3 separate regions of the Homo sapiens genome follow, and regions 1 and 3 are each linked to region 2. The links are contacts of gene promoters, found by promoter capture Hi-C in human tissues and cell types (Jung and others, 2019). All regions are on one chromosome and are shown on one strand. The core of a region is centred on a gene start or on the middle of the fragment in contact, and the rest is flanking DNA. Distances in the headings are between cores, read along the strand shown.

The links. The method cuts DNA at HindIII sites, captures the fragments that hold promoters and counts their contacts. A contact is called where the count stands out against the background at its distance.
Region 1: a contact is called between a fragment that was not itself captured here and the fragment with the promoter of ACTL6A in region 2, in 1 of the 25 tissues and cell types used here (small bowel).
Region 3: a contact is called between a fragment that was not itself captured here and the fragment with the promoter of ACTL6A in region 2, in 1 of the 25 tissues and cell types used here (heart right ventricle).

The regions. Positions count from the first base shown.
Region 1 is chr3:179,303,538-179,307,600 of GRCh38, forward strand. No RefSeq gene overlaps it. Among named protein-coding and RNA genes, the nearest start is that of ZNF639, 17 kb to the right of the region's middle. The HindIII fragment of the contact is 7,407 bases long and covers 1-4,063 here.
Region 2 is chr3:179,561,210-179,565,438 of GRCh38, forward strand. ACTL6A (actin like 6A) reads left to right here and starts at 1,717. Exons shown (of 14, transcript NM_004301.5): 1 at 1,717-1,908. The coding sequence starts at 1,884. RefSeq lists a silencer at 1,579-1,808. The HindIII fragment of the contact is 12,889 bases long and covers 1-4,229 here.
Region 3 is chr3:179,180,117-179,183,990 of GRCh38, forward strand. The region is part of intron 1 of PIK3CA (phosphatidylinositol-4,5-bisphosphate 3-kinase catalytic subunit alpha); the gene reads left to right. Among named protein-coding and RNA genes, the nearest start is that of PIK3CA, 34 kb to the left of the region's middle. The HindIII fragment of the contact is 3,251 bases long and covers 412-3,662 here.

The sequences.
Region 1 (4,063 bases), core at 516-3,015, 260 kb before region 2:
GGTAGCATCAGAGAGATCTTTGTGGTTTTGGACTGGTTCTGTATTGTGATTGCAGTTACAGGAATCTCATATGTGATGAAATGGCATCTGACTACACACACATTGTACTAATGTCAATTTCTGGGCTTTAATGCTGTACTAACGTTACATAACAATGTCAATACTAGGGGAAACAGGGTGAAGGGTACACAAGACCTCTCTCTATTGTCTTTGCAACTTCCTGTGAGTCTATAATTGTTTCAAAATGAAAGGGTTTTTTTGTTTGTTTGTTTGTTTTTAAAAGATCCCCAGGTGATTTAAGTACACACAAAATTTTGGAAACAATGACTCTGTTTGTTTACCTCAGTCACAAATGTGAAATAAATAGGAATAGAGTTATTATTTGTTCAGATGGTTCGGTAACAACCTAGTCACCTGGGGAGCCAAATAAAGAAAAAGAAACCCAGGCTTCAGACTAAATCAGATTCTGGGCTGAGCGCAGTGGCTCATGCCCATAATCCCAGGCAGGAGAATTGCTTGAAATAAGCCTGGACAACATAAAGAAATCCCATCTCTACAAAAAATAAAAAAATTAGCCAGGCATGGTGGCAAGTCCCTGTGGTTCAGCTATTCTGGAGGTGGAGGCAGGAGGACCACTGAGCCTAAGAGGTCAAGGCTGCAGTAAACTGCAGTTGTGCCACTGCACTCCGGTCTGGGTGACAGAGCAATACCTTGTCTCTAAATTAATCGGTCAATCAATCAATCAGGTTCTAACAAAGTGGCACTTGAGATTTTGCATTTTTCACACTCTCAGGTGAGGAGCAAGGACAAATTTCTGCCAAGGAATTAGACTGAAAAGATGTAGTGCCACATATGTGCATGCTTTTGTTAATATGTATGAGAAAAGTGGTCACTAATCTAGTCTTTTTCTTTTCTGTATCATCATGGAATAGTCAGTAACTAGTATCCCTAGGAATCATTATGAGGCTCCAAATCGTTCTGAGAAAAGAAATATATTTGTAAACACAAGTACATAAAATATTTACAAATATTTCTGTGATCATCAAATACATCTTCATTGGGAGGAAGAGTACTGAAGACAATAAAACAGCCTTCACAAATACACAGGGGGCTGTGAAAAGAGAAGTGTAAGTCATTCTTATACTAACTGGAGTTGGGGTGAAGAGTCCTTTGCTCTCTGTCGGCAAAGCTGTGAGTCCAGATCTGCTGAGAGCCATCCCCTTACCCTGACACATCCTCTCTAGTCCTTCCCACCCCACAGAGCTCTGATAAATCCCATCCACGGGGCAGGGAGAGTGAATCAGAGGCACAAAGAGAAACAGAAAAAAGGAAACAGAAAACTTGGTTTCAATTGTTTTCACTTGTCCTCTTTCCTGTCTCATTACAATTTTTAAGATAATGCTTTACTTATATCAAAGTAATATATGTACATATTTTTTAAAAGTCCAGTAGTTTTTGGCATTTGTTTGTTTGCTTATTTGTTTGTTTGAGATGGAGTCTTGCTCTGTCCCCCAGGCTGGAGTGCAGTGGCATGATCTCGGCTCACTACAACCTCCGCCTCCCGGGTTCAAGCGATTCTCCTGCCTGTCTCCCGAGTAGCTGGGATTACAGGTGCACACCACCATGCCCGGCTAATTTTTTGCATTTTTAGTAGAGACAGGTTTCACCATGTTGGTCAGGCTTCTCTCAAACTCCTGACCTTAAGTGATCTGCCCGCCTCGGCCTCCCAAAATGCTGGGATTATAGGCATGAGCCACCGTGCCTGGCAAGTCCAATAGTTTCATAAGGTTTCTAATATACAGCAGCAGTCCCTCCCTCCACCCCTCCTCATACCCAGTTTCTGCCCTGCCAATGGCAGCCACTTCCAACTCTTTTGGCTATAGTGTCTGACACTTTACTCCATATTCCAGACATCATGATTATATAGGAATTTGATATTTCAAGTTCAGATATCTTCTACTGGTATCCTATTCCTGATCAAAAGGGTTTAGATCTCTTCTACCTCCATCTGTTTATGTGGGAAAACCACCCTCACAACATGCACACACCCACACCCAAACACTCACTTCCTTATGTTTTTTTTTATTATTCTTGTTAAATATTTAGTATTTATATTATAGCAACTATCTAAATACATATTGCTGTTACCTGAGCCACTTCACTTTTAATTTTCCTTGGAGTTTATATGTGCTTCATTTGGCTTAATTTTCTAATTCATTTCAAGCTCTGTGCTAGAAGTATAAACCTCCTTTTGGTGCTTTTAAAAATACTGTGTATTCTACTTTGTTTGTTTTTAAATTTAGACATGTCTGGAGCTCTCCACCATTCCGTTTTAATTTCGATTTTTAAAATTCTAGGCCTGCTACATTATTGTATTCTGGGAATTATATTTACCATCATCCTGGCAATTCTCATTTTTCTTTTGTGTTGTTACTGGAGCTCACATATTTCTTTCTTGATTCACCCTCTCTTTCAATAGAGTATATTATCCAGAGCTTCCTGAAAAACAATTTGTTACAGTAAGGGTTTTAAAGCCTTGGTTGTCTTTATGCTACCCTTATTTGATTGATAGTATGTTAGCTATAGAATTCTAGATTGGATTTCATTTTCCCTTGGAAATTTGAAGATATTGCTTCATCATCGTCCAGTTTTCTATGCTTTGTATGTGTTCTACCCCCTTCTCCATTCCTTGAGTTTTAAAATCTTCTCTTTAATCCTGATGTTCTAAAATCTCACAATGCTCCATCAAGGCGTAGGAATTTTTTTTCCATTTATTTTGCTGGGCACTCTATGGATCCTTCAATCTGGACTCATGAGCTTTTATTCTGAGAAAGTTTCTAATACTTTTTCCTGATTATTTTCTCCTCTCTTTTCTATGTTCTGTCATTTTGGAACTCCTCATTTGAGCATTGGATCTGCTCAAATGATCCAACTTCCTCATATTATTTTTTAAACTTTTGTTGATTTAATTGTTTTTTTCCGTGTCACCCACACTGGAGTGCAGTGACACAATCTTGGCTCACTGCAGCCTTGACCTCCCAGGTTCAAGCCACCCTCCCACCTCAGCCTCTTGACTAGCTGGAACTGCAGGTCCATGCCCAGCTAATTTTTGTAGAGGCAGAGTTTTACCATGTTGCCCAAGCTGGTCTCAAACTCCTGAGCTCAAGACATCCACTAGCCTCAGCCTCCCAAAGTGCTGAGATTACAGGCATCAACCATTGCACCCGGTCCCTAATCTAACTAGTAATTTAGCTAATGCATTTTTAATTATCAAAAACGTTTTCTTGATTGTTGAATGTTCCTTTTTTAGTTTAGTTTTGTTTTTTTTTTTCCTATTTCATGGCTCAAAATCTTCTTCTCCCTGGATTGTCTCTTTTCTTCTAATTTAAAAAAAAAAAACAGTGTTTATTTTCTTTCTTGTTGAATGCTTTTCCCAAATCTCTTATGGTCCTTGGGTACTGCCCACATTTAAGAGTAAGTAAGGCTCTACAAAGCTGTTTGGGAGCACAGTGGTAGCCTTTATTGTAGGGTGATCAGGCCAGGACCCAGCTATTTTCCTGGGGGCCCACATTGTCCCCTGCCCATAACTAAAGTTTTTTCCCTTCGATTCTCTGGTTTCCCAAGGGAGGAATCATCCTGTTTCTAAGTCTGTAAGCCAGTCTTCTGACAGCTGAGTCAGGGAAGGGGGCTGAAGTCTAACTATAGAAATGCAGACTTTATCCAGTTTATCACTGATGGGCATTTGGGTTGATTGCATGTCTTTACTATTGTGAATAGTGCTGCAATGAACATATGCATGCATCTTTATAATAGAATGATTTATATTCCTTTGGGTATATACCCAGTAATGGGATTGCTGGGTCATATGGTGTTTCTGATTCTAAGTCTTTGAGGAATGGCCACACTGTCTTCCACAATGGTTTAACTAATTTACATTCCCACCAACAGTGTAAAAGTGTTTTCTCCACAGCCTTGCCAGCTTCTGTTGTTTCTTGACTGCATAAAGAAACTGTGGTACATATACACCATGGAATACTATGCAACCATAAAAAGGAACAAGATC
Region 2 (4,229 bases), core at 467-2,966:
GGTCTCCCTGTGTTGCCCAGGCTGGTCTTGAACTCCTGGCCTCAAGCGATCCTCCTGCTTGGACCTCCCAAAGTGCTAGGATTACAGCTGTGAGCCACCATGCCCAACCTGTCACATATTATTCTTTAAAATATTTTAAATAATAATTTAAAAACAGAAATAATCATTCTTAGCTCAAGGCCAAAAAAAAAAAAAAAAAAAGGCAGTCTTCCCACCTGCTTCCCCTTTTCCCCACCTCCCCTCCCCACCCCACACACAAAAGACTGGATTTGGCCCTAGTGCCATAGTGTGCTGACACACATCTGCATTATCTCACTGGGTTAATAGGGCTTTTCTAAATGGTCAGATACACTGTGATTATATTGTCAAGTGAATGGGAAAGAGTTTTCCCGCTAGCCTTTTTTCCCACCCTACTGCCTCATCACTTTCTGCCACCCTCTGCCACTGAGACTGATGGGGTTTTAGTCAATCGTTTCTAAGGTTAAAAGTAGGCACTGCATGTCTAGACTCTAGACAAGGATCAATTACAAGGATAGGCAGCAATCTTAAGGGTTTGAGCGCTGGAGTGTCCTGATCGGGTTTGGGCGTTTTCACAGATGAAGCTCCCTTGATCAAGAGTGGCAAAGGGACACAGCAACAAGTTGTTGCAGTAATCTGGGGATAAAGGAAGGTGATCTGGACTAGGCTGGTAGAAATAGGGGACTAAGGCTGTTTTTGGGATGCCTATTTAGGATTGGGTGCTTGCTTGAATGAAGATTGATTAGCTGTTTTAAATACCTCTCACAGGATAAAAGAAATTGATTTTTTTTTTTTTTGAGACAGAGTCTTGCTCTGTCGCCCAGGCTGGAGTGCAGTGGCGCAATCTCGGCTCACTGCAACCTCTGCCTCCCGGGTTCAAGCGACTCTCCTGCCTCAGCCTCCTGCGTAGCTGGGACTACAGGCCCGGCTACTTTTCTCATTTTTAGTAGACACAGGGTTTCACTGTGTTGCCTAGGCTGGTCTCGAACTCCTGACCTTGTGATCTGCCCGCCTCGGCCTACCAAAGTGCTCGGATTACACGCATGAGCCACCACGCCCGGCCTGAAATTTTTTTTTTTTTTTAAAGAAATGAGTAAGTTTTTTAATAGTTTTTAAAGCGCTACCTAGGTTTAGCTGGGATACCGCATAATTTCATTCTTCTTTTACTTATTAATAACCATTTTAAAAACTGCAAGATCCTATCAATTTGTCTGATTTACTGATTCCCCTATCCCAAAGTGGAGCGCAAAATTTTTACTTTTTCAACATAAAAGTTAGTTTAAAATACTTTTTCTGAAGAAAAAAAGAAAGAAATCCGCATTCCCCACAGTCACTGGACAGGAATCTCGGCGTGGAGACACCCGTTCAATTTCCAGGGGTCTACCTTCCCCTACCCGGGTTCCCGCCGCTCCTCAGCGCCCAGACGCACCTCCTAGTCCCGCCCCCATGCTTCTTCCAGCCTTCCTCCTTCTTCTCCCACTGCCTCCGCCCATTCCCTCGCCCACCCGGGAAGCTCCGCCCCCTCCAGCTCCGCAACCCAACTCCTTCTGTCCTGCTGTCGCTTTCCTCTTTCCCGCCCCCATGGCTGCCTTCGATTGGCTAAACCTGCTGGGCCGCGGCGGGGATGCGGCGCAGCCGCATTCTGATTGGCTAGACTTAGGCCTGGACCCTAGTGATTGGCTGATAGGAGGAGCCAGCAAGTGTGGCTGAGCTCCGGGGTGTGTGGACGCCGCTTTGTTGCCTGAGGTGGGTGGCGGTGGAAGTTAAGGGAGTCAGGGGCTATCGCTCCTCGAGACTCGCAGTCGCGGCCACTGCAGTCACTTCGCCAGTTAGCCCTTAGGGTAGGAGTCGCGCCGGCAGCAGCCATGAGCGGCGGCGTGTACGGGGGAGGTGAGTGAGTGCGGCCGGACGAGAGAGCGCGCCTTTTCGGCGTGTGGGGTTTGTAACCGCCGCTCCCAGCCCTCCCCTCCCCGGCGTTCCCTTCCGGTCTCCCCCTCTCGGGACCCCGGCCTCCCCGCCCCGTCCCCGCCCCACGCTCTGCCCGCCCCCGGAGCCCACCCGGCTCGCCGTGCTCCTCGGGCTCCCTGAAGTGGCGGCTCTCTGTGGCCTCTTCCTGCCTCTGTCCCCGGAGGAGCAGGGTTTTGGGGTGCGCGCTCGGTTCTCTAGGGAGCCTCGGGGCTGGGCGGGAGGCTCAGTCTAGCCGGCCGCCGGGCCCCGGCTTGGGTGACCGCCCCAGGGTCGCATCTCCCCGAGTGCCTCCTGGACTCAGCTGTGTCGGGACGCGTGTGCGCCCGCCTAAACTTGGAAGGTCCCGGCGGTTTGCAAGCGTGGACGGAGGGTTCCCAGAGTGTCCCATAGGTGGCAAAGCGAGCCTCAAGCCGTAGAACTGACTAGGGAAGCGGCGGCCACTTAGGGTACTGCCTCCTCCCCGTCTGCGCCCCATGCGCGAGCTGCCTCACCTTTCAGTAACTCTTGCCTGTTTTTTGGCTGCGGAGTCTCCAGAGTGACTCGTGGGCGGGTCTGTTTGAGATCAATTCAGGAGCACGTGTAATTTAAGGATGCCCAGAAAGTTTGCTGGGGGTCCTAGGCGTGTTATTTTTTCACTTTCTTTGATTAGACTGTGGTGTGGTAGGAAGATTACCAGGTGCCGGGGGTTACAGACCTGGGTTGAAATATCCACCTCACTCTTTATTAAGCGCTTTGGTCTTGGGCAGTTTATGTAACTTTCCAACTTCAGGCCTCATTTATGGAATAATTCCTAGCCGATGGGGGTGGGCATGAAGGTTAAATGAAATAATGCTGCATTTGCCACTTAAAGTCTGGCCCATGGACCAGCAGTGTCAGCATCACCTGCAAGCCTGTTAGAAATGCAGGATCTCACGCGTCATTCAGAATCTACTGATTTAGAGCCTCCATTTTTGCAAGATCTGCAGGTTAATCGAAACACTGATACATATAATTCATGTGTTGGGTTGTGTTTGATGAGTTAGAGACCCAGAAAACAAATCCAGACTATTGCTGTTGTTACTGTGTCTAGTAGTGATGCTGTTTCTATAAAGGATGTCATTTTACAGGTAGGAAACAACAAAAATAAGATTTTTCCTTCATGTTCCCCAAGAAAATCACATCACCCCTAAACTTGGAAGGAGAAAAACATTAAAATCCTCAAAAAAGACAAAAGCCTTTTTAGTAGAGTAGAGGTTCAATTCTTGAGGATTTTTATAGACTAGAAATTGCATCCTAGGTTTTAAACATCCAGAACTCTGTGGTTCTATTAAGCCTCCTGCCTCCCATGGCCACTCTCCTACTTTGGGTTCATGGGGCTTGATTTTTAATGAAGCAGGGTACAGGAATTAGATGTATCTCCCATCCTGGAAAAGGAACAGATGTAAAATTCTGAGAATTTAGAGTCTTAAATTAAAATTCCACCATATCCAGTTTACTAAACTAATTAGGACAGGAAAATGAGCTGATATGTTGGATTTTTTCTATTTCACAAAAATGTTTTTTGAGTACTTGCTATGTGGCAGGTATAGGCTCTTGTCATCAAGAAGCTCAGTCTTGTAGATGAGTCTGTTAGGTAAATAGACACCGTATTTCACTGATTCTTCGTTGTACATTTTTTCCCACATTTAAACAGCTGAAGTTGGAATATGTCTTTTTTTTTTTTTTTTTTAATAGAGATGGGTCTTGAACTCCTGAGCTCAGGCGGTCTTCCCACCTCAGCCTCCCAAAGTGCTAGGATTACAGGTTTGAGCCACTGCCCCCAGTCAGAATATGTCTTAACAGTGCTGGCGTGGCAGAGTTTAATTGCCATATTATTTTGTTAGTGATGCAGGAAATAGTGGTGCATCATGTAGTTGATAGCATCTTATATTGATCAGAAATGGTAACTGTAATTCAATGAGAGATGTTCATTGATAACAATATGTAGAAGGGGCCGGGTGCGGTGTAATCCCAACACCTTGGGAGGCCGAGGCGGGCGGATCACTTGAGGCCAGGAGTTCAAGACCAGCTTGGCCAACATGACAAAACCCTGTCTCTACTAAAAATACAAAAATTAGCCAGGCGTGGTGGTGCATGCCTGGAGTCCCAGCTGCTGGGGAGGCCGAGGCACAAGAATCGCTCGAACCTGGAACTGCACTCCAGCCTGGGTGACAGAGCGAGACTCTATCCTAAAAAAAACAAAAACAAACATATATATATGTGTG
Region 3 (3,874 bases), core at 787-3,286, 380 kb before region 2:
TTAATTGAGTAATGGTGTAATTAGATATATGTTTTTAGATAGCCAATTCTAGTGACACTGTAGATAATGAAGTGGGTGGGGAGAAATTGGATACTTTGTGCTTTCAGGGCCTCTTGTCTTAGTTCATACTGTCTACTTAACCTGTTGCACTCTTCTCATTCTGTACCTGTCAGAAATCAGGCCCACTTTCTCCTAAAATTACCACGTTCTGCCTTGTAGATTGTTAGATAATAAGGTCTTTTCAACCTCATTTATATACTTCATTTATATACTTGTATGAGTGTTTTTCTCCTCCTTTCCTTTCCATCACCCATCCCTTTGCTTCAGCTGCTAGTGTCTTAATAGAAGGTAATTGCTTAATGAATGCTTGTTGAATTAGAGACAGATCAGTCCTGCATATGAGAACTCTTTTAGGGTCTAATAGTGATAGAGAAGATTGAAAAAAAAAGGTGATGAATTTGAGGGTAATTTAAGGGGTGGAAGTGATGTCATGCAAGAGAGGAGTTGAAAGCACCAAATGTTTTAACCTTGGAGATTGAGAAAGTGGTGATGTCATGAAGAATGTATTCCACATTTGAATAATGAGCAGAGTAAGAGGTACCAACAAATGAAACAATTAAAGGAGGCCATAAAAACAACAGAGATCATTTCAACATTCTATTGAGGAAATTTGGGGGGACACACTTTAATTAAATAATAACATCAGTATTTCTTTACCTTTGTAACTTTTAATTAATGAAGATGTTTTAAGATGAAATATAAAATGTGAACCTGAGAACTGTTTAACATTTAACATTATGGATATACATATCCATGTTTAGAATGTTCTCTGTGTATTAATGCATGATTTTGTCATAAATACCCCACTAGGAAGAGAAAGGTCGGAGAGAGTGTGTGTGTCTCTATGTGTGTGTATTTGTGTGTTTTGTCCTGGCAAAAAGACAAACTGAGAGAACAGAAGAACAAAAGAGCAGTACTGAAAATAGCTAGATTAAAGGTTGTTTTTCTGTCACCACACACCAGATATGGAGAGTAGTAAAAGCAGACAGATGGACAGTTCTGTTAGTTTTGGAGTGTGTGAATAGAGAAAAGAAACATTCTGTTCCTTTTATTCAGAAAAGGAATTTCTAGACTAAATTACTGGTATCAGCAATAAGTTTCATATTCTGACCAAAGAAACATTATTTTTTTTTTACCCTAGGGATAATGACTCATGCTGTTCTCAGAATTTTGCTTTTGTGGAAACTAAAGTGCAGTCATAAATACGGCACTGTTATTTAGATCTTAGTGCTAATGATACTATTGTGAGTAGACTAGTGATGGGTAAGAACACTAGTATTATAAACCCAGTTGTAACAAAGAAACCAAGCACATCTTAATTAGCTGATTCTAGATGGGAAAGTAGATTTTTTAAACAAATTAACTAATTGTTTTAATTCTGTGAATTATGCAATAGAAATAGGACCCATAATTTTATTTTTTTAATACTTCATTATTTTGAGGGGTTTATGTCAGAAGTTAAATTTCTAACTTCCAATATTGACAGTGGAGATAATTAAACATATTTTCTCTGCCTTTTTTCCTTATGTTCCTCAAAATTAGTATAAGTCTACTAAATCATAGTCACATACACCATAAAGCACCTATCAAAAGAGTATCAGCTAGGTGAAGTTCAAAGATTATATTCTAGTTTTATTTTAACCTTTAAAGTCTTGTAATTTAAGAAATAGAGGTTTGAATGTCTTCTTTATATACCATAGTACTAGATGCTCTCACTCTGAATTTTTACCATGTCAGGATACTCCATCACATATTTATCTCTGTAATTATAATTATTGGGCACATACACAAAAGAGTTGTCCTTTACGGTATCTCTGTCCAACCTAAAAACTTTCCCATTTCTCTTCACTTTAATCTCTTCAGTCGTTCCCTTTCCTGAATTACCTCTTTACTCCCTAGTGACGGCTTAAAGTTTTAGATCTTAAAGTTCCCTTTTTCAAACTTTCTTACGTCTTCCTCTGTGCCTTTATTTTAATGTCAGCAGAAGTTAGCTCATGAATCATAACATGTGAAGCAGTTGTTTGGAATAATTGACAGCTTTTAATGACTTATGTTAAATAGCCAGTTTAAAAGTTTTTGTCAGTTGATAAGCTTTATAAAGAAGCATTTTAATGTATTAAATCATTGTAAGTAATTTATTGTTTAACTGCATGCCTTGGGTGGTTAACTAATGTCATACAGAGCATCAGTGAATAAGAGTGGCAGTATTGGCTGGGTGCTATGACTCATGCCTCTAATCCCAGCACTTTGAAAGTCAGAGGCAGAAAGATCACCAGAGCCCAGGAGTTCAAGATCAGCCTGGGCAACATGGCGAGACCCCATCTCTGCATTAAAAAAAATTTAGCTGGGCATGGTAGCACACACAGGTAGTCCTAGTTCCTAGCTACTCGTGAAGCTGAGGCAGGAGAATTGCTTGAGCCTGGGGTTGGGGCTGTAGTGAGCCGTGTTCGTAGCACTGTACTCCAGCCTGGATAACTGAGAGAGACCCTGTCTCAAAAAAAAAGGGTAATATTCTACTCACTGATCATGTATGTTGCTGCTTTTACACAGTTATACCCATTTCAGTTTGTCATTCTCATTGCTTGCTTTTTAAGGTATAGTAATTATAATTTCCAAGATACTTGGTACATTGAACTGTACATAAGTATAAATAAATAGTAAATGCTTGAAAGGGAAAATAAAGACCACTTACTAATATTTCTCTCCCACCATTGAAGTATTTTGGCTGTATTGTATTATCGAAAAGATGGATTTTTTAGAAATCTGTGCTTACATGACTTCACATTGTTGTTGCTTTCATTCATAGAACTTGTCTTCACATCTTAGCTAGGTGACACTTGTGCTGAAATTAAGCTACCCTCTCTCTGATTGCACTTCTGGGAGATCTGAGTTTCTTTGCTTGCCAAAGTTATTACTTCAAGCTTTCCTGTTGTGAAATAGCCCTTTTGCCAGAGATCAAATACTGAAGGATGATAAATCACTATTAGTCAATAATTGCTTGCAATGGACATTTTCATTATTACTAACATAATACTAGGATATTTTGTTATTGCCAGAAAATGGGGCAGATGGCAACCAATTACATCAGGATATAAAGTTATTGTTTGGTCTTTATCATGGAAAAAGCATTGTTATTTAAATCAAATTTTTACTGTATATCATGTCTTTCATCCAATGTCGTAACATCCCAGATAGACTTGGGGTGTATTCACTTAAAAAAATACAATATCTTACGTTCATTAGAGTATAGTTGGAAGAAAATGTATTATTTTTGCAAGAAGCTGTTTATGGATTTATCTGATTAATTTATGTAGAGCCAGGAAAAAGTTGTTTTGACCAATAAATTTGGCATTTGAAATGAGCAGGTTAAGAATAGACATTAAGTGATCACCTTAAGTGCAATAAAATTTCAGTGCACTATACATTCTGTGCTTTATATCTATTTGTAAGAATACCAATAATATATCAATATGGTATAAGAGGAAAGAATAAGAGATTACTATAATAGCTCCTAAGAAAGGAAATCAGTCCAAGGACATAGGCTGAGGTTGTGATGTGGACAAAAAGATAATAGCAAGGATAGATAAATAACTAGACAAAAATGTCAGGGACCTAAGTATTTATATGGCAAACAAGGATACTCAGTACATCTAGAGCCAGACTTTTTCCAGTGTCTAATCCTTGTTGTATATTAAATACTTTGGGAACTAAAATATGTTTTATGACACTGTGTTAACTGATGCATAATTATGTAATGGAAGCCATTAGGGCCTGTGTCTTGGCAGGAATTAAACTAAAAGCAAGGTCCTTCTAG